2 separate regions of the Homo sapiens genome follow, and region 2 is linked to region 1. Evidence: promoter capture Hi-C in 16 types of primary human blood cells and fetal thymus (Javierre and others, 2016). All regions are on one chromosome and are shown on one strand. Each heading gives the region's core, a stretch centred on a gene start or on the middle of the fragment in contact. The rest is flanking DNA. Distances are from core to core; before and after follow the strand shown.

Region 1 (3,523 bases), core at 737-3,236:
TCTCTCCCTTCTCCACATGGGTCTTGGCTTCCAAGGGGCCCTCCGAGGTCCTGGGACCAGGGAGCTACTGCTGGAGCAGAAGGCTGGAGACATCTTCAACAGCCTGAGTGCTGTCTGTGACAGGCCTACTAAGTGCCAGGTGCTGGGGTGTGTGTCTGGGTGAGCGAGTGAGGATGCCAGGGGGTGGGCAGGGGTGTGGAGAAGCAGCTGCAGGTACTAAGAGGGGATAAACAAAGCAGCGGGCATGGAGGAATGTCACTCTGAGGCTGCGGGGAGAGCATGGATAGAGGGGCTGGGGCCCCATGGAGCAGGAGCTGGTGAGCTGCAGGGCAGGGGCAGCCCTCTCAGACTCCGGCCTGGTTTGTGGGAAGCTTCCCTAATATCCCACCACACAGGCACCCCTGAGAAAGCCCTGCCCCCTGAGAAACTGAACTTATGCTCAAGAACCCACTTACCGGATGGAGGTCATGGACAGGGATGTGTGAAAACTTTAAAAGAACTGTCAAAAGCCCATAAAATCAGCCACCTAAATTGTAACATACTGTGCTATGACAGTAGAGAGACTGCAAAATTCTCATCAACATGGAAAAGAAAAGCAAAGAAAACGCCTGAGCCTTGGGTACCTGGTGGGTGATAAGGCTTCAACCTTGTGGAGTCTATCAACCTCCCCTATCCCCACCCTGCCCGACACTCTCCCCACCAAATGCGTCCATGCTGTGTCTGGACCCAGGCCGCTCCTGAGACGGGAGGTGCTTCTCGGGCTACCCAGCTGTGTCCTCTTGCCAAGCAGCCTCACGTCAAGGCCCCGACTGCTGGACACTGCCCCAGCGAGCCACAGCTGTCCTTGGCGTTGAGGAGATCTTTCGTCTTTTCTGGGGTTGAGGAGAATTCTCTCCCCACCTGGATGTCCCGTTCACACCCACGTCCACACATGCCTTACGGTGACGAAGGTCCCTACCCAGCCGGGTGTGAGGCCTGGGTCTGACGGGGCTGGCCTGTGGGGTTCTCTCCCAAGCAGGCCGCCCAGCGCTATGCCAGCCCTCTCTGTCTCCTTTGATGTCAAGATGGAATATTCATTTTCATCTGTTTCCACCTGTCAGAAATGGAGGAACGCTGGTGTGAGTGGAGGAAGACGTTTGCCAGATTTCCAAGTCCCCTTAATGTCTGTCCCTCTCTTCTACAACGGGGGAAGAAGCCCGTGTAACTGTATGGTACAAATACGCCCTGCTGAGCAAGTGTTCCAATCAGAGCCATTCTCATCCTGGGCATGCGGCTAGCTTGTTCCCCTCTGAGAAGTGGGTGCATTGAGGTAGGAAGGAGACTGTACTCCGCCTAGCGCTTTCGTGGACCCTCCCCCCCGACAAAGCTCCATCCTCAAAGTCCAGGCTAAGTAAGGTTGGTGGCTTGAGGATGCTACCTGGGGCACAGGCACAGGGTTTCCCTTAACCAAGAATTGACACAGCGAGTCGGGTGGGGCCGAGAGGCCGCTGCTGCCGTCGGGGGATGGGGGGAAACGGGTCTGACTCCCCGGGAAGGCGTCCAAGCGGCAAAATAAGATCTCCCTCCCACCCTGGACTAGCAGCTGGGGCCGCGGGTGCCGGGGTGCGTGCGTCTAAATGTGCGCATCCTCGCCGTGTGTGTGTGTGTGTGTGTGTGTGTGTGTGTGTGTGTGTGTGTACAGCCAGGACTTGGCGGGTCGAGTCACACCCCCTTCCCTCTTCTCCCATCCCCCGCAGCCCCGTGCCCGCTGACGGCGCCTCGGAGGTTCCACCTTTGAAACTGTAGGCGGCTTGCAGCCGCTGAGTGGTCGTCGGGAGAGGGGGGCTGCGGCGGGGGAGGGCGGGGAGGAGCCTGGCCCTGGATGTGTGCTTTTCGATTGATGGATGACTGCCGGGTGGGAGCGAGCGCGCGGGTGTGTGTGTGATCGTGTGTGTGTGTGTGGTGTGTGCGCAGGGTGCGTGCGCGCGCGGGGCCTGCCCATTTTCCTCCTCGCAGCAGTCAGTTGGGAGCTGGAGGGAGGGAGAGGGAGACGCAGGCGGCGAAACGGCAGAGGAGCCGAGCCCCCTCCGCCCAAGGCGCCCTCCCTCCGTCCGCGCACAGGCGCCGTCGCTTGGAGGAGCAAGGTGCCTCCCAGCCCGCAGGGGCGCCGCGCGCAAGCCCGCGGGCTCTTCGGTGGCTCTGCCCCGGGACTGCACCTGGAGGCGGCCCCGGACGGGGATGGTCAGCGGCTGCTGCCGTCTGGCTCGCGAGCGGGACGCTGTGAGGGCACCATGGCGCTGACTCCCGGGTGGGGGTCCTCGGCGGGGCCGGTCCGGCCGGAGCTCTGGCTGCTGCTGTGGGCAGCCGCGTGGCGCCTGGGTGCCTCGGCGTGCCCCGCCCTCTGCACCTGCACCGGAACCACGGTGGACTGCCACGGCACGGGGCTGCAGGCCATTCCCAAGAATATACCTCGGAACACCGAGCGCCTGTGAGTATGGTCCCCGCCCCTGGCTCCCTGGCTCCGAGGTTGCCCTCCCACCCAGACGCAATTCCGGACTTGGGGGTGGGGGCAGGACCATTGGGGCCCGTCCGGGCTCCGCAGCCCACAGACGGGTCAGTGCCTGCCGGGGTCTTTCCCGAGCCAGGAGCCAGGAGCGCCGTGGTTTCCCCATCCCTGGGATTCAAAGGGCCCTCGGCGGGGTTGTCAGCTTCCGTCCTCACACCTGCACCCTGCACCCTGCACTCCGCACCCTCAGGCCCTCCTCACTGCGCCAGCGCTTTATTCCTCCAGGGTGCCTGCGAACTGGTGTCAGAAAGCCTTCCTTGCACCCAGGAGGGACACTTCCCACACTCGCCAAGCACAATGTCTCCTTTTGGGCACATGGGGCTACGGCCGCGTTCTGAGCCAGCTGCGCAGATTCCCGCTCCCAGAGCTTGCTCCTGACGAAGGGCAGCAGGGTGGGATGGAGGCGAAGTTTCTGGTCTGCCCCTTCTTCTCCATTGTTTGCCCCAGAGCCTTGAGAATTCTTCCCCTGCAGGTGCCACGCGTTGGTCCCCTACTCACCCGCCTCCCTCCACACCCAGCCATCCCCAACACAGGCAGACAATGGGACCTGAGGGCTTTGGGTATGGGGCTTGGGGTATGTAACATTCAGCACCCGAAAAGGGGCAGGTGTGTCTTGGATGGAGAACCCGGTGGATAATGCCAAGAAGTCAGGAGCTTGGAGAGGGGGGCCCAAGGTTAAAGATATTGACCATGACAAGTAATAAAAAAATAGCATTTCTCTTCCCCTGTTCTGTCTCACTTGTGAATTCTTGAGGAAACTTGATCCTTTTCTTTTCTAGACCCAGTAAGCTAGTAGAATGTGTGTGTGTGTGTTTGGGTGTGTTTGAGTGTGTGTATTTACAGACCTTTATACTTTGTTTTCTGTGACTCTCCTGCAGAATGTGTTTCTGTGTGAATTCCTAGTATTAAGGGGCCACCTTAATAGCGTGAGGCCATGAGAGTCCCCGTAATGGGCTGTGTGTGTGTAGATTTTGGTCA
Region 2 (3,405 bases), core at 600-3,099, 96 kb after region 1:
GGAATCGGATGCACCATGCACATATGCACAATTTGCACATGGTTTTAGGGGCTGCATAGACCTTGGGCAGCCCACTCTTGAGGCCTCAGAGCCTCCAGGGGCCCCAGCTCAGAACCCTGCTTGACAATCTCAGCAGTGACCTGTGCCAGAGCTGCCTTGACAGCAAGCCTTCACAAATGTCACTGCGTGCTAGTCTTTCTTGCTCCTTGTGGGTGGCCTGGTTCGAGCAAAAACTTGAGATAAATGTAAGAAGATGAGGCAATGGTTAGCCGAAAACCTTCCTTTCTGCCAAGGTTGCCCTTTGTCCTTTACTAGTGTGTGAATTGTGAGCAAGACTTCTCGCCACTCCTGGCCTCAGAGTTAGTTCTGGCCTGTAAAAGACTGGAGCTTGTTTAGATCATTTCTAAGGCTCTTTTCAACTTGGGAACTGCAAGGGCACTTAGCCTATGGGCTTGGCATTGGACAGAGGGGGGTCCAAGCCCTGTTTGTGCTCCTACGAGCTCTGTGCACTTCAGCCAGCAACCTGACTTCTCTCAGCCTCGGTGTTCTCATTTGCAAAAGGAAGATAAAAACATGTTCAAAGTATGACTGTAAACGAGCTAGAAGTGTGACTGTCATACAAATATAAAGCGGTATGTGCCAAAAGTTTACATTTAATTCATGAATGAAGGGACCAGCAGGATGGTAAAGTTGTTTCAAGGAGAATTTGGGGGGCTGAGAGCTTATCATCAGTGAAAGACAGGGAACACTGAAATAAAACTACAAAGTTCAATACAAAATTGGTTAATGTTGGACATGGTTAATAAACTAAACCTTGAGGTTATTTTTTCTACCAGACAGTAATGATTTGCAACTCTACCACACAAAAATCTACAAGTTCGTGTGTAACTGCACAGAGGACAGACCCTAATCAGTAGTGGATAGTGAGACAAAGGTGAGTCCCCTAAGGAACCTGGCTCACTTCACGGAAAGACATGAGGAGAAGCCCCTCTCCAGGGGAGAAGATGGCAGGAGTGGTGCATGGAGCGTGTCTGAGCACATCCACACTAATTGGTTTTCAGATGCAGCTGCAAAGTTCATGTGAAATGGAAAAAATCAAATCTGTGCTTTGAATCCATAGCACTTGCCTTTTGCAAGAGGCAAATTCTCAGTATGGGGATAGGTGATAGAATGATATCAAACCGGAGTGAACAGAGTAGCTATCTTCTCAGCTGATGTCAACGAATGATCTCAAGTGTATCACAAAGTAGTTTTTCCTCCAGCACTGCCTGTGACATTGAACAAACCCCTCCTGGGGCAGTGAGGCAGGGGCAGATGTGCTCTGCCGCCATACTGAGAACCGGGGCTGCCCCAGGGGCTTGCTTGCCACCCCCTTCAGCACTAGCAGAGGGCCACTTTCATGGATGGAGCGTGGGCTTAGGAGGCAGCAGCCAGGGCCTGCCAGGGCCCAGCACCCGCTGGACGACTTGGGGCTTGCAATTTCACCTCTTCTGTGAAAGCGCCAAGGTGCAGAGCCTGGTGTGGTGCAAGCACTCAGTGAAGGGAGCTGTTGGTGGCACCCTCTTCCGCCCTTTTCCACCCTGTGGCAGCGCTCAGTGTCCTCATCTTAAAAATTTTACCTCTTAAGGCTGTTAAGAGGGTTGCTTCTTGCTTTCACTGCCCCCCCCAACACCCTATAATCCAGTTGCCTCCCAGAAACCAGTTCTCCTTATAAAATATCAGCCAGACCCTGCTGCTCTCCTGCTAATACACTCCAACTCACTTTGAGTCCAACTCACATCCCAGCCATGCCTCCGAGGCTCTCCGTGACCCAGTCCCTGCCTATGGCTCTAGCCACCACCTTCTTTCTATTCCCTGACACTTCCAGCTCTTGCCCACCTCACGGCCTTTGTGCCTGCTGGTTCCTCTGCCTGGGACGCTCTTCCCAGGACTCTGCTTGGCTGCTTGCTTCTTGTCACTTCGTTTCTCCCTTGACAGACAGGGAAGCCCACCAACCACGCGGGCTGCAGGGGCCCCTGCTTCCCACTCCCTCTCCATCCTGCTCCTGTTCTGTTTCCTTCACGGCACTCCTCCATCTCTGAAATCATGTGGGTGGTTTTTGGCTCCCCCACTGGGATGGAAGCATGGAGCTCCCTTGCCTTGGTTGCTGCTCTGCCTAAGCCCGTGGTCCGGCCCTGAGAATGGAGAGGGCCTGGATGAACAGCAGCGGCGAGGATGCTGGTGACAGACACATGTGCCAGCAGGGACTGAGCTGAATGCTTCACATGCTTACTTATTGAATCCCCACCACAGCTAGATACTGTTACTATTTGTTATTCCCATTTTATACAAGAAGAAAGAGAGGCACGGAGATGTTAGGGGACAAGCTCAGAGTCACCCAGCTAGTGAGAAGCAGAGCCAGGATTCAGCCCAGACAATCTGGCTCCAGAGTTTCTGCCCTTAACTGACATGTGAAATGCTTGTTGGATTTGTGATGTACGAGACAGAACATGAGCCATCCTCCCCGGTGAACCCCACCCCTCCACGATGACAGGCCGTCCCTGCTGGCCTTGATCCCTCAGCCTACTCCCCCAGCTGAAGCCTCCCTCCCCCAGCCATGAGTAAGGACAGGACACCTTCCACCGCCTCACAGGGATCTGATTCAGATAGGGCTGCAGCGGCCAGAATTCCATTCCCACCTCTGCCTGGGATTAGTCACACAGGACACATCCCCGTGGGCAGGTCACCTGCAGGCTTCACACTCATCTTCAGAGTCTGACACCTCCAGCCATGGGCAAATTATCTCTCTGCGCAGTCAGCCCAGAGAGACGGAGTAGCAGAGCCCTGGAGCCGAGGGCCCCAGCAGCCCCACGCTGCGTTCTTTTCATTTGCACCTTAGCTGGCTGTCAGGTGCGACAGGGACTCACTGCCACCCCTCACTGCTGCAAAAAGCGAAGTCCCAAGGCTTCCCAGCTCAGAGCCTCACCCCCAGTCGTGGGGGGCTTGGCCTCTCCCTGTGTCTTCCTGTCTGACTCTGTCTTTTTTTTCTTCTTTCACTTCTGTTTCTTTTGTATTCTGTTTTTGCACTTTTCTCTTCATTGGTCTCCTGGCTCTGGACTGCCTCCCTTTCTCTCTCTGTCTCAGATTCCCTTGCCTTTCCCCCAGATGCTGCACTGTGGTGGCACTGGCACCTGGGAGCTGGCTGCTGCTCCTGCAGGGCTTCAGCCATTGCTTTCCTGCAGTTTCTCCTTGCAGGGTGCTGCCCAGGAGTGCACCTGCAGGCTGGGCAAGTGGCCGGGGCTTCTGGCTTCTGTTTGGCCACTGCTCATCTGATAAACAAGTGTGATCCAGCCTCTTTCTTCCCTTGGTCTCTAGATCCTCCCCATGACAGCTCATGAGGATGAGGGGAGGGTTTTGGGTGGGGAT

The links. The method cuts DNA at HindIII sites, captures the fragments that hold promoters and counts their contacts. A CHiCAGO score of 5 or more calls a contact.
Region 2: a contact is called between a fragment that was not itself captured here and the fragment with the promoter of SLIT1 in region 1, in 3 of 17 cell types (M1 macrophages, M0 macrophages and fetal thymus). The highest score is 6.3, in M1 macrophages.

The regions. Positions count from the first base shown.
Region 1 is chr10:97,184,422-97,187,944 of GRCh38, reverse strand. SLIT1 (slit guidance ligand 1) reads left to right here and starts at 1,986. Exons shown (of 37, transcript NM_003061.3): 1 at 1,986-2,467. The coding sequence starts at 2,271. All of the region lies in intron 11 of ARHGAP19-SLIT1 (ARHGAP19-SLIT1 readthrough (NMD candidate)), which reads left to right. RefSeq lists enhancers at 1,141-1,641, 1,642-2,142. The HindIII fragment of the contact is 4,998 bases long and covers 374-3,523 here.
Region 2 is chr10:97,088,860-97,092,264 of GRCh38, reverse strand. All of the region lies in intron 4 of SLIT1 (slit guidance ligand 1), which reads left to right. Among named protein-coding and RNA genes, the nearest start is that of SLIT1-AS1, 12 kb to the left of the region's middle. RefSeq lists an enhancer at 944-1,561. The HindIII fragment of the contact is 4,491 bases long and covers 1-3,405 here.